Regions from separate parts of the Homo sapiens genome. Here region 1 is linked to region 2. Evidence: promoter capture Hi-C in 16 types of primary human blood cells and fetal thymus (Javierre and others, 2016). All regions are on one chromosome and are shown on one strand. Each heading gives the region's core, a stretch centred on a gene start or on the middle of the fragment in contact. The rest is flanking DNA. Distances are from core to core; before and after follow the strand shown. Region 1 holds the start of LOC105373584 (a long non-coding RNA gene). Region 2 holds the start of TMEM177 (transmembrane protein 177).

Region 1 (5,425 bases), core at 744-3,243, 640 kb before region 2:
CGTTGGAGACAGCAAAAGAAACACTGGGCTGATAGATCGGAATGACTTAGGAGAGGGAAATCAACACACACACGTGTTGTGCAGATCTTGCAAAATCTAACTATAGGGAGAGAGGGGTGGGGAGAGGGGAAGAAAACAATTGAGCCCCAGAGGCATCTGGAAATGAATGCTAGACTCTGTCTGGGTGTTGCTCAATGGTGACCTGCCTTCCCAGGGGCCTTGCCAAGGTGTGGTAAAGGTGCAGGCTCTGCTGATGGCTCGTTTCATCCCTGCTGGAAGCAACTGGGGAGCTGCTTCAAAGTTGCAGTGTCCTTCGAGCAGCAAAGATCCAGCGATGCCAGGGCATGAGAAGGGCATCTCTCCCATGCGAGTGTGGTGAGCAGACAGGCGTCTACCTGCACAAGGTGTGTTTACGGGCGCAAAGCCTCCAACTCATGTGGTCAGGTTAGAGAACAGAAGCTCATTCATTCCCTATTTGCCCCAAAGCCTAACCCTTCTCCTTCAGTTACTTGGAGTGAACAACTACTACCCCACAAGGACCCAGGCCTGATGGCTTCTAGCATACAGCGTTTGCGGTGCAGGCAGCATTGCCCCGGAACAGAAAAGCTGAGATTCTAGAGACACCTCCCCGACACGCCCCTCCCTTTCTGCCACATTTTGGCCGTGTCTGATGTTGGCCCACAAAGTTCCACCAAAAACATCCACCGCCCACTACTCCTGCAGCCCAAGCAAAAGCTCGCAAAGGGAAAATCGAGGCGTTCCGTCAGAGCTGCGGCATCAGACAGAGGTGTTTTGGCAAGCCAGGGGCTCTAATGAGGCTGTAAATGACAGGGCAGGGAAGTGCAGGAAATGGCTAAACATCCTGTCGGCTTTGAACTCCACAGACCTGCTCGGAAGCACTCACATTGGTCTGAAACACGAACACCTCTTTATTATGGGATCAATAAAGGCTGTAGGAATCGCTTCTGGTCCTGCTGGTGTTACCAAATTTGATGATCATTTGCTGAGCACTGAGGAGATCACAGGCCAGAGGAGGTGGGGGTCCACCTGGGCTGTGTGGTCACGCACCCAGTGCCCAACGCTCAGACAGACACCAGCCAGCTTCACCTTGTGCTGCCTCTGCGACTCTGGGCGACTTAGTTTTCTGTGGCTCTGTTTCTTTGTCTATAAATTGAAAATAATAAATAGGGCCCACCTGGAGGAGTTGTGTGGGCCCCAGTGGAGTGATAATGTAGGTAAAGGGCTGACATGCCAGGGCCAGACACCAGGGTGACTCCCCTGAGAACCAAGAGGTCATCGCCATGGTTCAGAACCTGTTCCATTCTCCTCTGCTGCCCTACGCATTCCAATACAGCACCTTCTGCCTGCCACGCCCAGTCTCCAGGGCTGGAATACAGATGTGAGCAGGACCATTCCTGGCCTCCCGGCTCTGAGGAGGCGAAGCGCAGGCCCACAGCTGTGCGGCAGGAGCCACCCTCACAGCAGAGCCGGTGTAGACGCTTGAACGGCTCCTGCAGACACTCCCCTCTCCCCCTCTTAAAAAAACAAATGCCCTGGCCTCCATAGCCCCCAACATACCTGCTTGTGCCCTCCTCTCTCCACTGGTATCACAAACAGAAACATCAATCTGCCTTTGTTTTGCCAGGTCTGTTTCCACACACCCTTCCCATTATATTTGAAAACAAAGCTTCCCATCTTTGCTCGGACTTCTCAGCCTACTTTTAAGCAAAGCACTAACAAGCGCCTCCAGGGTGGGGTGGAGAGTTTGTGCCAAGAGCAGGGCTTGGCCCAGAGCCCATCCCTTCCAGGCCTGGTCACAGGGAGAGAGGGTGGAGATACAGCAGACAGAGGGGCCGAGAAGGGGCCTGCGGCCTCCCCACCTTGCCTCTCCCTCTGGTAGTGAACGTCCTCCCCATCCCCAAGGGCCTCCAGTCGGCCCTGGGCTGCTCCAGGGGTCCCTTTCAGCAGACCGCCCCCAGGCCTGTCAAGCCTGTCTCTTGCACAGAACGCTTTATCTGCCCCCACCCCTGCATCCTGTTCTCTGTTCCAGAGGGGCAAGGCTGTGGAACCCCAGAAGACAGGCCTCTGAGAGGACCCGGGTCACCCGGACCTGGACTCAAATCCCATCCCTGTACCTCTCCTTGGATGAACCATCGAACACTGAGCTTCCATTTTGCATCTTCCAACTGCACAGAGAAGTAAGTGTGTGCTGCTCCTTCCGTGGTTGGTGCTGAGTGGGGATTTCGGGAATGGTCCCTGCTCCCTGCATTTTCCACAGGGCCAGCGGGAAATAAGCTTTACCTCCACCGCACAGGAGGGAAAACTTCAACTCGCATGTTAGGGTAAACTGGGGAGAGACTTGGGGTAAATGGGGAAGTTTTTTTGGTGATGGGTTGGGAGGGGCCCTTTACCCCCAGAGGAAGTGGTCACCTCCGAGGGTCTAGCTTGGTGGCAGCGGGTACAGTTGTAGCCTAGAGAAGAAAGAACAGGGGCTACACACATGTGATGTAAAACCGAGGAAAAGTGAAGAAGTGCGAGGTGCTCGTGGGGTCACCAGGTTTGGGGCTCAAAGTTCCAGGAAAGGAGGGACTCCAGGCCTTGACCTCCACTGCACACCTGGGGACAGGGGCCGGAGACAGTTACCTTGGAACCACCAGCGCCCACACACAGGGACACTCCCCACCTGACAACTAAACTGTGGAGTTCATTCAAGTCTTTCCAGACCGCTGTGGTAACTGAAGACTAATTTTCCAGTGCAGGAAGAGGATGAGGGACCTCCTGTCTCATGCTTTGTTTAACTAATATGAAGGGAAGGGGAGCCAGGCGCGGTGGCTCATGCCTGTAATCCCAGCACTTTGGGAGGCTGAGGTGCGCGGATCACCTGAGGTCAGGAGTTCAAGACCAGCCTGGCCAACGTGGTGAAACCCCGTCTCTACTAAAAATACAAAAATTAGCTGGGCGTGGTGGTGGGAACCTGTAATCCCAGCTACTGGGGAGGCTGAGGCAGCCTCCCTAGTATATATATATATATGAGGGGAAGGGGGCAGGAATCATGGAGCCAGAGAAACTGATTTTCAGTTCATAGGCAAGCGGAGGCCTGATGTGGAACTAATGGGGCTCTGCGTCATGGGCAACTAAACCTGGAGGGGGCACCGTGCCCGGTTCTCCCAGAGAAGAGAAGAAGGACTGGGCAGACAGCTCTCCATCTCTCTGTGGAGGCCTCCCCTCCCACTTCCTTCCCCAACACCCCACCTCCACCTGCTGCTTCCAACCCCCAGCCCTGTTGGTTCTAGAAAGTTTGGTTGTTATCCAGCAGGAGGATGAGGACTGGTTTAGAGCAGAGCCATTAAACTACAACCTGTGGGCCAAAGCTGGCCCACCCCTTGTTTTTCTAAATAAAGTTTTATTGAAACAGTCACACTTGTTCCTTTACATATCATCTGGGGCTGCTTTCTCACTTTGAGCTGTTGCAACAGAGACAGTGGGGCCTGTGACACCAAAATTATTTGCCATCTGGTCTTTACAGAAAAGGTTTGCCAACCCAGGTTTACAGAAGGAGAAAGGAGGGTGCTTCCCACCTGCTTCCCTTGGTGAGTGGGGAGGAGCTGGTGGCAAAGCGCAGGTTCTTGGCAGTAGGAACCAAGGCAGCCCTGCATCAGGCTGGGAGGGCCGAGGAAGGCCTCTGTGGAGATACAGAAAGCGGGGCTTAGGAATGGGGAGGGAGCTGAGGCCTGTGCCCAGAAAGGGTGGGCCAAGAACAGGGAGAAGACAGCTGGCACAGAGGGGACGCTGGGCTGCCCCTCACAGACTCAGCTGAGGCAGGAAAGACTTCGCTAAAGAGGAAGGCCAACGCGTTTAGGCTTTTTCAGAGAAAAGGACAGCGCTCCCATGGGCAAGGGTGAGTGGGGAGAGCAGGCAGGCGCGGACCTTGAGCTTGGGCTCCTTGGGACCTGCGTGACCCACAAACCCCACCCCTGCCCGGCAAACCCCACCCCTCTGCAGCTTTCCTACTGCCCTTGCTGTACCATGCCAGGGACTTGCCACCAACTGCAGCTCCGGCTGCTGTCGGATCCCTCCATCAGGAAAACAGTGGTCCCCTCACAGCTGGCTCCTCCCTTCCCCACACCACCCCAGCAGGACTGATCTCTCCTGTTTCCCAATGTCTGTTAGGGGGACTCCACCACCCGGTCCCCCAAGTCAGAAGCACCAGACGTCCCGAGGCCTCTTTCTCCTTCCCATGTCCCGAGGCCTCTTTCTCCTTCCCCACCTTACATTAAGTCACCTCCAAGTCCCTCCAAACCTCCAGGTGTGCTTCTGAAATCCATCTGGATACCCTCCCTGGCTCTGGCCACCCTGCCCTGTCTCCCAGCCAGAGCAGCCCTCCTCTGCGCTCACTCGCAGCCCTGCACATCTGCTCAGCCAGCAGCAGCTCTCAGAGGCTTCCTCACCAGCCGGTTTCCTGGGCCCTGGCATTCAGGCCACCCCTCCGGCCCTTGCCAGGCCCCCACCCCAGCACAGTCAGGCCCTGTCTCCACTTTCTGCAGAATGTTCCAAGCAGAGGTTTTGGGGCCACACAGCAGCTGTGGGAACTCAAACAAGTCAGCCCACCTCACAGGGCCTCAGTTTCCTTACCTCTAAAATGACGACAGCACCAGCCAGGGCCAAGGCCACTGTGAGGATGCAAAAGGCTGTTACTCACATCGCTGCTATTTCTGTCCCTGCTCCTGCCTCTGTGCTTGCTTCTGCGCCATTCCATTATCATTCACTGAGCAAAAAGGCATGGGCTGCCCAGGAACTCAGGGAGGGGAGTGAGCTGGAGTTGACCATCATGTTACAAGGGCCACAGTGCTGCTGCGGGCATTTCAGCACTGTGCCGGGGTGGGAACCAGTGTCTGGCTTTGCCTGGAGAAGCAGAAGGGCACAGTTGGGGGAAGTGTGCTGTGTGCTGTGGCGGCAGGGTGGGGAAGGGTGCAGCCAGGGCCAAAGGCACAGTGCTGAACACGCAGAAAAGGGCAACAGGCACACGATGGGACCACAGCGTGTGCAGATGACAGCCGGGAGCACAGACAAAATGATGTTCTGCGGATGGCAGCCAGGGACACAGAGGAGGTGCCCTCTGCAGAAGGGGCTGGCAGCCCCCCAGCCTCACACCCACTCGTCAATGGCTGTGTGGTCACGGTGGTGTCCCCCACCCTCCAGGGATTGTCAGCTGAGGAGTGACATGGCCAGGCCTGTGCAGCAGCGAGCTCACACTGGTATTAGAGTGAAAGACCGTCCTAGAGACCAGAGACCAGAGCATCAGTGTGAGAGGTCAGGGAAAAGACGGTCGCAGTGGCCAAGGCGTGATGCTGTACAAGCCAGACAGTGGCACCAAGGGGCAGTGGAGGCCACCCAGAAGGAGCACACTTGACAGACCACAAGAAAG
Region 2 (4,901 bases), core at 912-3,411:
CGTGCACGGCAGTGGTACTGCTTTCCAGGTACACCACTTCCCTGGCCAAGGCGAACTTCTGGGCTTCACGGGACAAGGTCAGGGAAGCTCTCAGCCGGGCGCCTGCTGGGCTCCGCCAGTCCACTGTATGCCCATGTATGACCACGGGATGGTTAGTGTTGATCACTAGGTCTCCCAAGAAACTGGCAGGGATGCCCACCACAGCCCCAGCAGGGAGTCTTGGGAAGCCTGCACTCACAGGTTGGAAGGTGAAGGTGGTGAAGGGCTTGTAGCAATGGCCTGAAGGAACACCTATGTCCTGTAGCACCTCTTGGAAGAGGCTCTGCAGCTGTGGAGGGAGCGGAGCTGGCTGGCCCTGAGGCCAGTACTGGTAGAGCCATTGGACCACGGGATCCGGGAAGAGGTGGTACGAGATTGGAACTCCAAACAGGCCTGCACAGGAACCCACCAAGAGGCCTGTCCTGTGTCTCTGCACAAATGCTGCGGTCCGCCACAGGGGACCTGCCATGAGTGTAGTCACTGCGGACAATCTGGGCCAAGAAAAAGAGAAGTCAGCCAGTTTCCCTGGGTCAGCCTGCAGACTGAACATCCTCCAGGGTCCACACCACCTTTTTAAACCAAAGTAACACAGCATAGTGGTGAAGAGTGTGGGCTCTAGAGCCAGAGTGCCTGTGTTCAAATCCCAGCTCCGTCTCTGTGCGTCAATTTCCCCATGTGCCAAACAGGTGTGTCGTAATGGCCCACCTCTAGGGTGGCGGTGATGAGCACATGAATAAACATACATAAAACATTTAGTGTCTGGCACAGCAGCAGATATTCCTTATAATAATGGCTGTAATGACTTTTATTCCCATCGCTGGGCACGGCACTCCAACTGCCTCATTCCACTCATCCCATGGTAAAGCCCTATGATTACTAATTTATAAGGAAAAACGTGTTCAATTTATTGAGTGCTTACTATATGCTAGACTCAGTTCTGAGCACTCTTACCGATTGAACCCTCACAACCCCATGACCTAATTACTACAGCTAACCCTATTTCAAAGCTGTGAAAACTTAAATGGCCAAAATCCTAAGCTAGTGAAGTGACAGTGTTATGGGCTGCACTGTGTCTCCTCCTCCTCCCCAGTTCATATATTTAAGTCCTAACCCCCAGTACCTCAGACTGTGGCTGTATTTGGAGACAGGGTCTTTAAGGAGATAATTAAGATAAAATGAGGCCATCAGTATGGATCCTAATCCAATTTGACTGGTGTACTTATAAGAAGAGATTAGGATGCAAACAGGCACAGCAGGAAGATCATGTGAGGATCCAGGGAAAAGGCTACCACCTACAAGCCAAGAAGGGAGGTCTCAGAAGACACCAACCCTGTTAACACCCTGGTCTTGAACTTCCAGCCTCCATAACTCCCAGAGGACAAATTTCTGCTGGTTGGGCCACCCAGTCTCCGGTACTTCGGCATGGCAGCTCTAGCAAGCTAACACAGGCATAGTCAGGTGTCCACAGCAAACTTTTTGTTTTAGAAAACTTGTTATGCCAAATTACAAGCATATACCAAAGTAGACAAAATAGTACATCCATCAACTTCAATCCCATCAACTCATGGCCAATCTTGTTTGATTTCTCTTTCCACCACACTTCCGTCCAACTGGTTTATTTTGAAACATCCCCGGGCATCCTATCACTTCATCCGTGAATACGTCAGTAAAAATTCACAATTATTTCACTTTGATTGAAACTTACTGTATTCCTGTCCGTGAAAAGTGCTTAATGAGCAACGAATGAGTTGCCGCAAACAAAAACGCAGGGTACCGCTTGGCCTATCTTAATCAAGAACTCCTATAAGAATCATTATCATTCGGGCTTTTTTTTTTTCCCAATGCGGAAAGTGAGGCTAAGAAAGGAAAGGTCTGGACCAAAGTCCAACGTCCCTAGGGCCATCGCGCTGCGGGGTGGGCCTAGAACACAGTACCATGCAGCCCGCCGGTGGCTGGGGGAGGAGGGGCTGCAGGAGCCCCGCAGAGGGGTCCTCGCTACGCTTCCACTCTGGGCCCCTAGGCTACTCCGCAGTCTGAACGCGTTACCGGGTCGCATCAGGCCGGAGAAGGGTCCCTCCCGCTCGTCCGTGCGCTCACCTCCGCCGCCGCTCGGAACGCCTACATGTGCGCGCGGCAGGGCGGCCGCAAAGCACGCCGGCCGGGGATCTGGGGGCGGGGACTTCGGGAGGCGGAGCTCGCCGGCCCCGGATCTTGGGATGGGGACTTCAGGGGGCGGAGCTCGCCGGCCGGAGATCTCGGGGCGAGGATTTCAGGGAGGGGAGCTCGCTCGACGGGTCTGGGGGCGGGACTCTTGGGGGTGTGGCTGGGGGGGCCTCAAGGGGATGTCCGTGGGGGGCTCCGGCCGCCGCAGAGGCTCCTTCTCTAACTGTGCACCTTGGGGTGGGTCCGCTAGCACTTCCTCCTCTGCGTTGAAATGCGTCTTTGATTAATACAAAAATTAGCTGGGCGTGGTGGCGCACGCCTGTAGTCCCCAGCTGCTGGGGAGGCTGAGGCAGGAGAATCGCTTGAACCTGGGAGGCAGAGGTTGCAGTGAGCCGAGAATACGCCACTGCACTCCAACCTGGGCGACAGAGCGAGACTCCGTCACACACACACACACACACACACACCCCGGTGTCTTTGATCATGCCACACACACACACACACACACCCCGGTGTCTTTGATCATGCCACACACACACACACACACACACATACCCTGGTGTCTTTGATCATGACACACACACACACACACACCCACCCCGGTGTCTTTGATCATCACACACACACACACACACACACACACACATCCCGGTGTCTTTGATCATGCCGTTGAACCCCCGAAGGAACGGCAGCCCCGCGTGGGTCACCAGGCGGCCTATGGCAGGGCCCCCATCAGAACCCATGCCCATCTGACTGGCCGGCCCGTGTACTTCTCCGTCTGGAAGCGCTCACCCTTGGCGGGGAGCTCTGAGCTTTATGTTTATTACCATGTTCGCTGCCCCCCAAGCTCCTCCCAGGTGCTTCACACTGTACAGTCCACAGAGCAGCGTGCCATCTGTCATTTCTCCTTTCCAGCTGCTCTGTGAGGTAGATGAGGGATCATCTAATCTGTGCACCAAATCCAGCTCTCCACCTGCTTTTGTAAATAAAGTTTTCTTGGAACACAGCCATGCCCAATCCTTTACAGAGGGTGAAAACAGACTGCCTAGGGTTAAAGCCGGGCTCCACCCCTTACTAGCTGTGTGATAAAATGAGTTGGTGTATATGTAACCTGTGCCTCACGGTTTGTGCCGCCTAGCCATTAGCTATTATTATTAAAGTCTGTTCTGTTTCTGAGCCCCCCCCCCCAATTTTGGCTGCTCAGTTGTTTGTATGTAAATAGTGCAATGTGACCTCAGCCAAAGCCAGAATGTGGGACATTCTACAGGGCAAATGACGTGGTTTATCCAACAAATCAATGGCATAAACAGGGAAGGAGGGGGACTCAAAAGAAAAGAGACTTGAGAGTCATTGCAGTTAAATGCAATATGTGACTTTTATTGGGATCCTGAACCAAATAAACTAACTGTAAAAAAGACACCTTGGGCTGGGCGCGGTGGCTTACGCCTGTAATCCTGGCACTTTGGGAGGCCAAGGAGGGCAGATCACCTGAGGTCAGGAGTTCAAGACCAGCCTGGCCAACATGGTGAAACTCCGTCTCTACTAAAATACAAAAATTAGCCAGGCATGGTGGCACACGCCTATAATCCTAGCTATTCAGGAGGCTGAGACGGGAGAATCGCTAAAACCTGGGAGATGGTGGTTGCAGTAAGCCGAGATTGTGCCACTGCACTCCAGCCTGGGTGGCTAAGTGAGACTCTGTCTCAAACAAACAAAGGAACAAACAAACAAACAAAAGGCATCTTGGAGAAATTTGAATTTGGATTTGAATATTAGATGATATTAATGAATTATTGCTTATTTCATCAGATGGGATGATGACATGGAGTTTATATAAACCAAAAAATTCTTACTAGAGATGCATACTGAAGTGTTTACAGGTGAAATGACACAATGTCTACTATTTGATTCAAAATATTCCAACGAAACCAAATCCAAACAACAACAACAACAAAAAAACAGGGGCACAGATGAAACAACATTGACAAAGTGTTAGTTATTGTGAAGCTGCATGACAGGTTCAGGGATCTTCATCATACCATGCTCTACTTTTGTGTGTGTTTGGAAATTTCCATAATAAAAAGTTTAAAAAAATTTTTTAAAGTAGGCTGGCCAGTTGGACTCCATCAAAATGAAAAACTTTTGTGCATGAAAAATACTATCAAGAAAAGTGGAAAGACAATCCACAATAGGAGAAAATATTTACAAATCATAGATCTGATAAGGGTGTAGTATCCAGAATATATAAAGAACTCTTAGCAACTCAACAAGCCAATTAATAAATGGGCAAATGACTTGAGTAGACATTTCTCAAAAAATATATACAAATATATGCCAAAAAGCATATAAAAATGTGCTCACTAGTATCAGTCACTAGGGCTGATCACAGAGCGGCTAGGGAAATGCAAATCACCACAATGAGATATTATTCACAACCACTGGATTTCTATAAGGAAAAAGAAAACCTAGAAAATAATATATGTTGGAGAGGATGTGGAGAAACTGAAACCCTCATACATTGCTGGTGGGAATGTAAAATGGTGCAGCCACTGTAGAAAACAGTTTAGAGCTTCCTCAAAAAGTTAACCTTAAGCTAAGCTAGGCTCAGTGGCTTGTGCCTGTAGTCCCAGCTACTTAGAAGGCCGAGGTGGATTGCTTGAGGCCAAGAGTTCGAGGCCAGCCTGGGGAACATAGTGAGA

The links. The method cuts DNA at HindIII sites, captures the fragments that hold promoters and counts their contacts. A CHiCAGO score of 5 or more calls a contact.
Region 1: a contact is called between a fragment that was not itself captured here and the fragment with the promoter of TMEM177 in region 2, in 9 of 17 cell types (total B cells, total CD8 T cells, non-activated CD4 T cells and 6 more). The highest score is 11.4, in total B cells.

The regions. Positions count from the first base shown.
Region 1 is chr2:120,315,292-120,320,716 of GRCh38, reverse strand. It overlaps LOC105373584 (a long non-coding RNA gene), which reads left to right and starts at 1,376. Exons shown (of 3, transcript XR_923260.3): 1 at 1,376-1,645; 2 at 2,051-2,198; 3 at 3,079-3,414. The HindIII fragment of the contact is 608 bases long and covers 1,690-2,297 here.
Region 2 is chr2:119,676,461-119,681,361 of GRCh38, reverse strand. TMEM177 (transmembrane protein 177) reads right to left here and starts at 2,161. Exons shown (of 2, transcript NM_030577.3): 1 at 2,086-2,161; 2 at 1-530. The coding sequence starts at 508. RefSeq lists a silencer at 2,085-2,314. The HindIII fragment of the contact is 6,463 bases long and covers 1-4,901 here.